Regions from separate parts of the Homo sapiens genome. Here region 2 is linked to region 1. The links are contacts of gene promoters, found by promoter capture Hi-C in human tissues and cell types (Jung and others, 2019). All regions are on one chromosome and are shown on one strand. The core of a region is centred on a gene start or on the middle of the fragment in contact, and the rest is flanking DNA. Distances in the headings are between cores, read along the strand shown.

The links. Contacts are between HindIII fragments. The study calls those that stand out against the background at their distance.
Region 2: a contact is called between a fragment that was not itself captured here and the fragment with the promoter of HOXD13 in region 1, in 1 of the 25 tissues and cell types used here (mesenchymal stem cells).

The regions. Positions count from the first base shown.
Region 1 is chr2:176,090,821-176,095,760 of GRCh38, reverse strand. It overlaps HOXD13 (homeobox D13), which reads right to left and starts at 3,040. Exons shown (of 2, transcript NM_000523.4): 1 at 2,090-3,040; 2 at 1-1,281. The coding sequence starts at 2,870. The coding sequence ends at 1,031. The HindIII fragment of the contact is 2,672 bases long and covers 436-3,107 here.
Region 2 is chr2:175,674,855-175,679,999 of GRCh38, reverse strand. The region is part of intron 3 of LOC107985962 (a long non-coding RNA gene); the gene reads left to right. Among named protein-coding and RNA genes, the nearest start is that of LNPK, 320 kb to the left of the region's middle. The HindIII fragment of the contact is 4,139 bases long and covers 1-3,865 here.

The DNA of each region.
Region 1 (4,940 bases), core at 1,791-4,290:
ATTATTTTTCTTCTTGGACCTTGGAACTTCACATTTTTCATATTTGTTAGATGCTTTACAGCTCCATGCGAGGCCCCCTTGTTTAGACAGTCAAGTTCTTCATTGGGTTCTGTATGTAAGTTCCCACCCACGGCCACATTGATTCAGCCTCTTTTTGAGGATTGAGGAGATGACCACAATCCCAGACCCATAGATCCAAGGCCAAGAAAAGGAGGTGCATTTATGCCATCCGCGGGTCACTCTACTGATTGCAGCCATTTAAATGTCTGCATTGAGAGCTCAAGAAATGAAGGCATCCACGATCCATGAGGACACATGAGTTTCAAATTAAAGATTATGAAAACACAAACCTACAAAGTGTTAAAAACAAACAATTAAAACAGCAAGTGAAACACCCAAAGTTGGAAAGATTGTCTTCATTTCAATATTGATACAATCCCTATTTAATAAGGTGGCCATTTTTAAAGCCATCACAGTACCTTCAGCCTCCTGTTTTTAGACTTTCTCGGTGACCCCAGAGCACTGCCTGCCTTTCCACTTGCCTCAGGGCAACTGCTGAGAGCTAATGATTCAATTACCTAATTACAGGATATGAACGACTGAAAACCATTCTGTCCTAATGGATTATGAAGATAATCAGTGCTGGGAATGAACAAATAAAGTAATTTTTTAAAAAAACCCTTAAATCAGAATGGCACTTCTGAAGTTCATTGGGGGGCGGATTATTAAAAAATACTTCAAGTCCCTTTATACTGGCCTGGAGGGAGAAACAAAACATTAAAAACAGATATTTTAAAAACCCTAGGCAAGAACAAAACCAATAATAAACAAGTAAAAATCAGAACTACAAAGTCAGGTTGGGCAGCAGAAGGTTTTAGAGCCAGATAAGGGGAAGAGAGAAAAACAATTCACAAAATTTGCCACCATTGGCAGGGGGTGGGGGGAATTAAATACATATTCAAGTCTTTCCAAAGGCCTTTTGGAGACAACCGAATGGCTTCTAAGCTGTCTGTGGCCAACCTGGACCACATCAGGAGACAGTATCTTTGAGCTTGGAGACAATTTTCTTGTCCTTCACTCTTCGGTTCTGAAACCAAATGGTCACTTGTCTCTCAGATAGGTTCGTAGCAGCCGAGATACGCCGCCGCTTGTCCTTGTTAATGAATTTGTTAATGGCATACTCGTTCTCCAGTTCTTTAAGCTGCAGTTTGGTGTAAGGCACTCTCTTCTTCCTCCCTCTTCGGTAGACGCACATGTCCGGCTGATTTAGAGCCACATCCCCTGATACAAACAAAAGCACAAGAAAAATTAGGCTGGGATATTCGGAGCACCTAGCTGAGGATTGTGTGTGTGTGTGTGTGTGTGTGTGTGTGTGCGTTTGCAGGGGTGCAGGAAATTTTTAAAAAATGCCATGCTGTTTGGTCTTTATTATGTACATAGACATAACACTTACCTGTTATTAAAGAAGGATTATTTGCACTTAACAACAATGGTTAATTTGATTGATTATCATAGTTTCTCAAACCGGCATCTTAACAAGCTTGCAATTTTATGGTGTGGTTATTGGGCACGTTCATGAGGACAGTTTCTGCAAATGTCGGTTGTATAAAAACAAACTTACATACATAGACACATACCAACTCAGGTCTTTTGCTCAAATTTTGATTTCCCGCGTTCCTATGTTAGGAGTTCGTGAGCTTGATCTAACAAGCTTTAGTAGTCATCTTGGGGCAGTGATGTCTTTGAAAATGGGGGGACCCAACTCTGTCAGGTTTCTTAGGAAAAAGTTCTCTTTAGGAGAAAAGGGAGAGGCCCAAGGAAAGGGCACGCAGAGACTCTCAACTTTAGGAGAAAAACGTGTCTGCGCTGCACACAGGAAAGAAAGGGCAGTGACGGAGGCAGTTGAAATCAGAGGAGGAATTTACAGATTTCACACGAACTGGACAAATTTCCACTGGGTTAACCCTGGTCACGTGTGGAGCACAGGCACAACTCCCACTCCCAAGTAGGGGCGCATACTCTTAGTCCTTTCTTTTCTCCTTCTCTCTCCCCCTCCCTCGTGTCGGTCCCTTTTCTCCATCGCCCCTACCTGGAAAGGAAGATTTCCAAAAGTGGGACCCCTGTGGCTGGTCCTTGGTGCAGTACACCTGGCTGTTCCACCCGTTAGCCAGCGTCCAGGACTGGTACCCCTCCATGGAGATGTAGGCCTCGTGCCGAGGCTCCCCGGAGCCGAAAGTGGACACCATGTCGATATAGCCGGGCACGTGCTGGTAAGGGCTCGTATAGCCCTGGTAGAAGGATACCTCCTTGGCTCGCGCTGGCACCTCGTTGGCCGGTACGCTGCTGCTCGCCAGGCCTGACACGTCCATGTACTTCTCCACGGGAAAGCCTCCCAGCGAGGCGTGCGGCGATGACTTGAGCGCATTCTGCTGTAAGCCCACGCCGTGCGACATACGGCAGCTGTAGTAGCCGTTGCCGAAGTGGTAGCCGTAGCCCAGCGCTGGAGCGCTCGGGGGCGCTGCAGCGGCCGCTGCAGGCGTGGGTGCTGGGCACTCTTTGGCTGGGGGAGCCTCCGGGCGCGCCGCTACAACGGCAGAAGAGGACGACGACGAGGAAGAGCCCGTGCGCTCAGAGGTCCCGGGGTACGCAAAGCCGGAGGCTGCCGCCGCCGCCGCCGCAGCCGCCGCTGCCGCCGCCGCCGCCCGCCCCGAATGCGTCCCGGCGAACACAGGCGCGGAGAGAAAGCCGCGGCACTGGCCTGACGCCGCCGCCGCCGCCACCGATGAGGAGGAGGAAGAGGCCGGGGCGCCACCGGCGCCCCCGCCGTCTGCCCGCAGCCCGTCCATGTCCCAGCTCCCGGCGCGGCTCATGGCCCGGCCTGGCCCGGCCCCGGCCCTGGCCCTGGCCCCGCGCAGGACACCATGGCGCGGCGCGCCTCCTCCCTCCTCTCCTTTCTCTCTGGTTCGCTCGCTCCCGCCCTCTTCCTCTAGCCCTCTCTCCCTCTGTGAGCCTCCCGCCTCCGGCCCGCCTGCCCTCCAACAGGTTAGCTCATCGCGGGACGTTTATAAAAACGAAGTTCAGGTTGGGAGGGGGCCTGGGCCGGTCGGGGGGCCGCCTCCCGCCCCGAGGGCCCCCGCCGGGGGCGTGCCATTGGCTGCGCGCGGCCACGTGGGGGTAGGAACGCGGGGGAGCCTGGCTCCCGGCCCAGGCCTGGCTGGACCCACCCACTCCGGCCCCCACCCCTCTCCTGCCCCTTGCAGGGTCCACCTCCCATTCCCGCCCTCCCCCCCGACCCAGGCGTACGCGCTGCAGCCACCCCCACGAGTTGATTGCGCGACGGCCCATCCCAGGCCCTGTCTGCGACTGAGGCGGGCGCCAAGGCCTGCGCCTTGTCTCGGCAACCGCTGTTTTTGCCACCTCTCCTCGGCTCCCCGAGTTGCACAGCAAAATGAAGACGAAGGACAGAGATGATCAGAATGATGTGAAAACAGGCCCATTTTTTTATCCTGTTGCTGAATCCCTCAGTTAGTCGACTTCTAGACCCCAAATCCGAGTGAGCTAATTTGCCCTACCTTGTGCACTGGTACCCGGCAAAGGCATTTCACACAGGTAAGAGGCATTGGAGCAGACCCTTCCTATACACACACGCTGTCCGTTCGGAAAATGCCCATGAAGCGCCCTTGGGGCTGGCGGCAGAGACTTAAACAGATGAAAGACAGGCATCGGCGCAGTGAGCCTGACAATCTGTCCCAGAAAGAAAAGTCCATGGATGCCTACTCAACGCTCTTCGCCTCTACTCTTGGGCCAGCCGGGAGTGCTTCCGACCTGGGCCTCTCAGCTCCCGCGGGTCCTTCTTCGACCCGCAGAAAGACCCTGAGAACGGCGCCGGGGGAGAAAGCCACTCAGCCTCCCACCGTGAAACTTCTGTGTCTCTCCAGCAGCCGACCGGCCTCGCATTTTGCAGTCACCACCCACTCCCGCCCGTTTCTCACACCAAATTAATTGAAAACTTCACTTTCCCAGGGACCTTTGTTTCGCTTCCTTTTCCAAGCTGTCAACTGCAGAGAACTGAGAGGGGCAAATTAAGAGGGCGCTTGTTCCAAGCAAATTCGGATTTTGTGATAGGAGCAGCCCAGAGAAACGGTCTGACTTCAAGGGGTTAGGTGGGCTCAGGGCAGTGCTGGTGGGGCTAGGTCCAGCTCTGGAACCAAGCTGCCAGGGTGTTAGGGATTACAGCCCTGTCCCTCATCATCCCTTTCTGTTGCTCCTCAGCCTCAGAGCTCCAGCCCACCATCCCTCAATCTCAGCAACTAATGGGGCACCAATGAGAGTCCTGCTGTGACTTTGGGGCTCTGCCTTAGGAACAATATTAGATCCAATGAGCCCAGGGTTCTGGGGGTGGATATGGGATCCTTCAGAGCCCATTTGGTTCTGTGGCATGCACTCCCCAAGCCAGCCCATCTCCAAGAAAATCACTCCCCTAAGCCTGTGATTGGTGAAAGCTTGTCACCCAGCACCACTGTTCCCCGACCAAAGATGCCCTGAGTAAGATGAGGAAGAGAGCCAGGAAGGCCCTCCTTGGCCTGGCCTGGCATTTCAGGGTAGGCTGCTGGTGTTAGGAGTGTTGACATGCAAAACGCAGTAACCATAAAAGGCTCAAATAAAGGGGAAAGTTATGAGAGGGGTGTTGGAAAGGAAAAGCAAGAGAATTCGTTTCATCGTTTTGAAGTTCTAGACATGTTCATGATCAAATTTGAGATGGGAGGGGCCTGAATTTACAGGAAATCATAGGGAATAGAAGTTTGCTGATGAGAAAATTTTTTTCACTATTTGGGAAAAGAAGGCAAAAGTCAGCAATGAAAGTTCAACCAGCATTTTAAAAAGGCCAACTGTGGCGAGGCGACAGGATTGCTAACTTTTAAAGAGGGTTTGGCTGGGTC
Region 2 (5,145 bases), core at 547-3,046, 410 kb after region 1:
TCTTAGAACCATATTCAGGAAATCAGCATTGGTTAGAAGACATGGACATTATACTATTATAATGTCACACTAAGCATAAAATGACAATTCTGATGTATGTACTAGTAGTGTTTTTGAGACATAGGCATCTCCCTGCTGAGTCTCAGACTTCAGGTGGAGGAAGCTTGCCACCCCTTGGGAAGCACCCAACGTGATGATCCTATGTCAGCAACGTGTGTGTAAAGGTGGTTTGCCAAAATCCAGCACTGGCCCATGTAAAACACATTTTTATCTGACTTTTTAAAGCCACATTTGGAGATCCATTAGCACTGTATAGGAGGCCCGAGTGTCCTCTGCATTACGCTAATTGTTTAAGCATGACAGGTTATTACTTCAGTCAGAGGGGTAATGTAGGTTGGGGAAAAAAGTAGGGCACAAACACAATTTTCTAGTTTTTGAGAAGCAATTATAAATAGATGAGAAGCCATAAAAATATTACACGTGGGATGGCTCATCAGTAGGATTGAAAAGGCGACTGGAGCCCATGCAGCCAAGAGGAGTGGTTCAAAGCTGACAAGTCTACAGCAGTGATTCAAAAATAGCAATGATAATTCTGCAGCAAAACAGAACAATGAAACCGAGAGTCACAGCACTCAAAAAAGACATTGGCCCAACACAATGCTCTCTCATTGGATAAGCTATTTTCATAGCAAACCCAAATTTCAAAATGTCAGCCTGATAAATAGGGGAGATTTGAAAGGATACAGTCAAGGTGTTTCGTTTTAATACTTAAAGAAGAAAAAGAAGCCTACTCTTGTTTCTAACAATCTTTTAGAGCTTTAAGGAAAGAGGATGTTGTATTTTGAAAAGAGACCTGGTTGTATCTTGTCTAGAAGCTATTTTAATATATACAACCATTAAGTAGGTTCAGATCATATTATGAGGCTCATTTTTTTCTCTATAATAGGGTGAATATTAGTTAGAACTCAGTAACCACAAAGAGCTATAAAAGTTTAAAACATAATGTCTTACTTTTATTTCCATTTTCTTCTGAGTATAGGTGCCGTCTTGGTATGGTAAAATAAGATAGCATCTACTAGATTCTGGTATAATATATAGCCTGGTAGGGTGGCTATGCACATAGACTTTAGAGTTGCCTTATAGCTCTGAAAACTATCTTTACTGGTTTTCAAAACCATTGGCTGTTAGATTTTGGACAATATTTAGTATCTCCAAGGTTTCCCTTTCTCATTTCTAAAATTAGGATAAATAGCACCAGCTACATAGGGTTATTCTGAGACCTAAATTAATGAATGCAAAGCACTTAGTACGAACTAAATTAATAATGGCTGTCATTGTGATTCCTTTTACTGCCGTTGCCTGCAATCTTGGGCAGGAAGTATGATATTTGGCAAGTCATTTGGCCTTTTTGGCTCTTGACTTTTTCCAAGGAAGGTGTTGGGCTAGGTAGCTCTATCTCTGAGGTCTCTTGAAGTCTTGGGATCTGAAGTGTGTGTGTGTGTGTGTGTGTGGTCATACTTCATAGAAATCTCTGTGTATATCAGAAATCCATGCAAAGTTTTCCAAGAGCAGTGTATTTCATAGGAATCAGAGATTTTCATCTCAATTGTTCCTTCTGTTAGGCAAAGATCCTCCTAAAACTAAACTTCATATTTGAGATTAAAAATGAGATAATAACAGATTTCTAGGATTAGGCAAATTGGCACAGCTGGCAAAAGCAGTTGGACTTTATATACCCCCTTTGTCTTAGAGGTACATTCTTACTTACTAATCATTTAAAAATAAAGGAAAGATATTTCACGCACTGTCTTGTTCTGCTATAAATCCCCAGCTGAAAACATGCCTAGAATTAAATAGTACACAGAGAGGAGCAGAGTGCAGTCCTATCTCAACCTCCTCAGCATTGTTATTTGCTCTGTGATGGGAAAGAGAAAAGCCATCTATAAAGTTCCAAGTGAATTAGCAAGTGGCGCAGCTGCAGGAGTCCAGGGCTGATTTCAGACTATATTTTGACCTTATTATCCCTGCCTTTGCTATTGAGTGTCATTCTAGTCAGTGGGATTACAATGGGGAGTTTAAGGGAGAACAGAAAGAAAATGATACACAGATGCACAAGTAAAGTAGTAAAAGGAAATACTCATGAAAGGCTCAATTAGTCTGGGCACTTAGATGGAAGGGCCAGAGTAGGACTTCTGCCAAGGACAGTAACAGGAGTGCCAGGCCATTCTGCTGGCCAGGTCTTGCAGTTATCACAGAAAACCCAGGATCAATTTTCTATTTGCTATCTTATCATTCTCCACTTATGTTGAGGTAATATTAATTATATTTGGAAATTGTTTTGTTTTAAAGATCTTGAAAAAAATGACACTTATGAAGATGTGGAAGACAGAGAATTAAGCACTCAATAATAAAAACATATTCGTTTTATATGCTACTTAACATTTTACAGTGCATTTCTATCTATTTTATCTCCTCAGGCCCTTACAATTATGCTTTGAAGGTATTCTTAACTCCACCCTATCAGTTGGATGTATTAGGCTGCAAGTAACAGAAAACTCAACTCAAAGTGTCTTTAATAACAAGTACATTTGTCTCTCTTTATCTGCTGTTTTGCTTTCTGAAACAGTGGTTCCAAAATAGGTGAGTACAGTACAATAAGGTATTTGGAGAGAGACAGAGACCACATTCACAGAACTTTTATTACAGTATGTTGTTATAATTGCTCTACTTTATTATCCATTGTTGTTCATCTCTTTTTGTGCCTTATTTATAAATTACATTTTATCATAGGTGTGTATGTATAAGGGACAACATAGGATATTTAGAGTTTGGTACTATCGGTGGTTTCAGGCATCCACTGGAGGGTCTTGGAACATGTTCCTTGCCATTAAGAAGGGACTACTGTGAATGCATTCTTTTAATTCAGAGCTGTGGGAAGATTTCAGTGTTGATCGATTTAGTGGCTCACCATTATCATCAAGACCCCTAGTGTTCTGTCACAAGTGTTGCATGCATCCTCAGGCTGATAGGAAGATGGCTATAGCGGTTCCAGCCATCACAACAAAGCCCAAATACTTCTAGAAGAAAATGAAAGATTATTTCCCCCTCTAGAGCTCTCTATTAGGAGTGAGAATTTTTTTTTTCCAAATGCCCCCCTCAAGTTTCCCTTCATGTCTCATTGGCCAGAATTGCATCTCATTCATGAACTGATCATTGACAAGAGGAATGGGATTACTTTTAGACCAGTCAGGCCCATTTCTGGGGCTGGGAGCAGGGTCAGGTTTCCCTGAGGCATGTGACTGCACGGGACAGAGGTGAAGGGTATTAGAACAGAATGAGGTTCATGTTTAAAAGGAAGACATGGCAATGGACAGGGGCTGGGCAATTCACAGTGTCACTCACTCAATGCACACTAGAGTAAACAGACTCAGAATGGCAAAGAGATTGCCTAAAGTGTGGCAGAGCCATGGTTGCTAAAAGCTGCATTTTAAAATAAAGAGAGTGTAGAATATTTACAGAATATAGAACATTCCAGCTGGAAGGGACTTTAAAGGTCATCAAGCCCAACCCCTTCATCTAACCCAGTACTTCGAGAGCATGGTTCTTGGTATCTCTAGCTCTCCAGTCAAAAGAGCTTACTAATGTATGCCTCTGTTTGAGCTTACCCTCTGAATCTGTTAGTCTTCCCTTTGAAGGGTAATCCATGCATACCACATAAAAATTTTACATGTAGGAGAGTAATGTATACATTCAATGGATAGACTGGTTCCCGACTGCGGGAGTTCAGGGGGGCTTTCAATCTCTGAGGTCTTTCCTACTCCCAAGGGAGGTGAGTAGAGCAGGGAGAGGCAGGAGCATGTCTCCAGTTAAGTAGCAGCCAAGAAAACGGGGGATGTGAATGGGCAGTTCTTCCGTACACGGAGCAGTCTCCCCATCCACCCACAGAGCAGTCTCTCCATCCACGCATGTCTGCACGTCTGACTTGGTAGACCCTGTGACCCCCTTATTTCTTCTCTCTATTTCCTACAGTCCCCTCTGTCTTTTACGGCAGCCCTCCCTTCCCCAGGTTTTGCTTCTCTGTTATTGCTAGGCCCAGGCAGTCAGTTCCATCTAGTTTTCCTTGGTAAACCTAGAGTAGGAGTTGGGAATCAGTTCTACAGGAAGGAGATAAAAAACAGTGACACTGCCTATTTTGCCTGAGGGTGAAGTATCTTCAAGATAAGCAAACTTTTCTCCTGCAAAAATGGACTAACCACATACAGTATAATTCTGGTGTGTTAGTATGCTAGCTGAATCTCTGTCTCTTTGCTGAACCGTATCAAATATTCCTAAGATTGTCCACCTTTTAGCATAATTGGAGAACATCTTAATATTGAAAAAAAAGCCCACTTTTCCCCACCTTATCAAAGACATTTTTATCCAGCTTGGCAGGGGCAAGGGTGGGTGTGCTCCTTATCACCAAGACTGCTGCACACTGTCAGGGCTATTGGTCACAGCATTGTGGCTGGGCCACCACCACTGCCGCAGCCATCTCATCTATCCTTTTGTCCATGGGTCTGTCTCCCCCAATTCAAAGTCTGGGTGGGAGTGTCTGTTTGGCTGCACTGGGTCAAATGTTCTTGCCCTGGTATGTTTGCACACATGTGAAGGGGTTGGGGGTGGGGAAGGTGAAAAAGGAGGACATTCCTGCTTCAGTTTTTGGAGTGGGAAAAGGTGTCCTATCTCTCACCAAGACTAATCCAGTGTAGAATTTGGATGTTGGGGATTCAAATGTTGGACAGCCAACAAATGACAAGTGCCCATGGCATAAATTATCTGAATTTCTAGCGCAGAGTAAAGGCTCATGTGAGACAAAAAGAGAAAAAATAATGTAAAGAGATGCCACCAATTAGCAAAGTAAATGGATTTAGCAAACAAATGTTTCTCAGAACCATTATGGCAGTGGTTCTCAAACATTGAGTGCATCAGAATTAATGAACACTTACTTAAAACAAGTTTGTAAACCTCACCTCAGACTTATTGAATGGGACTCCACTGGAAATAGGGACCAGGAATTCACATTATTTGTAGACTTTGTGGATAATTCCGACATGGTTGGTCTGTAGACCTCCTCTGAGAAACACTGCTATGTGGGTATTGGAAGAG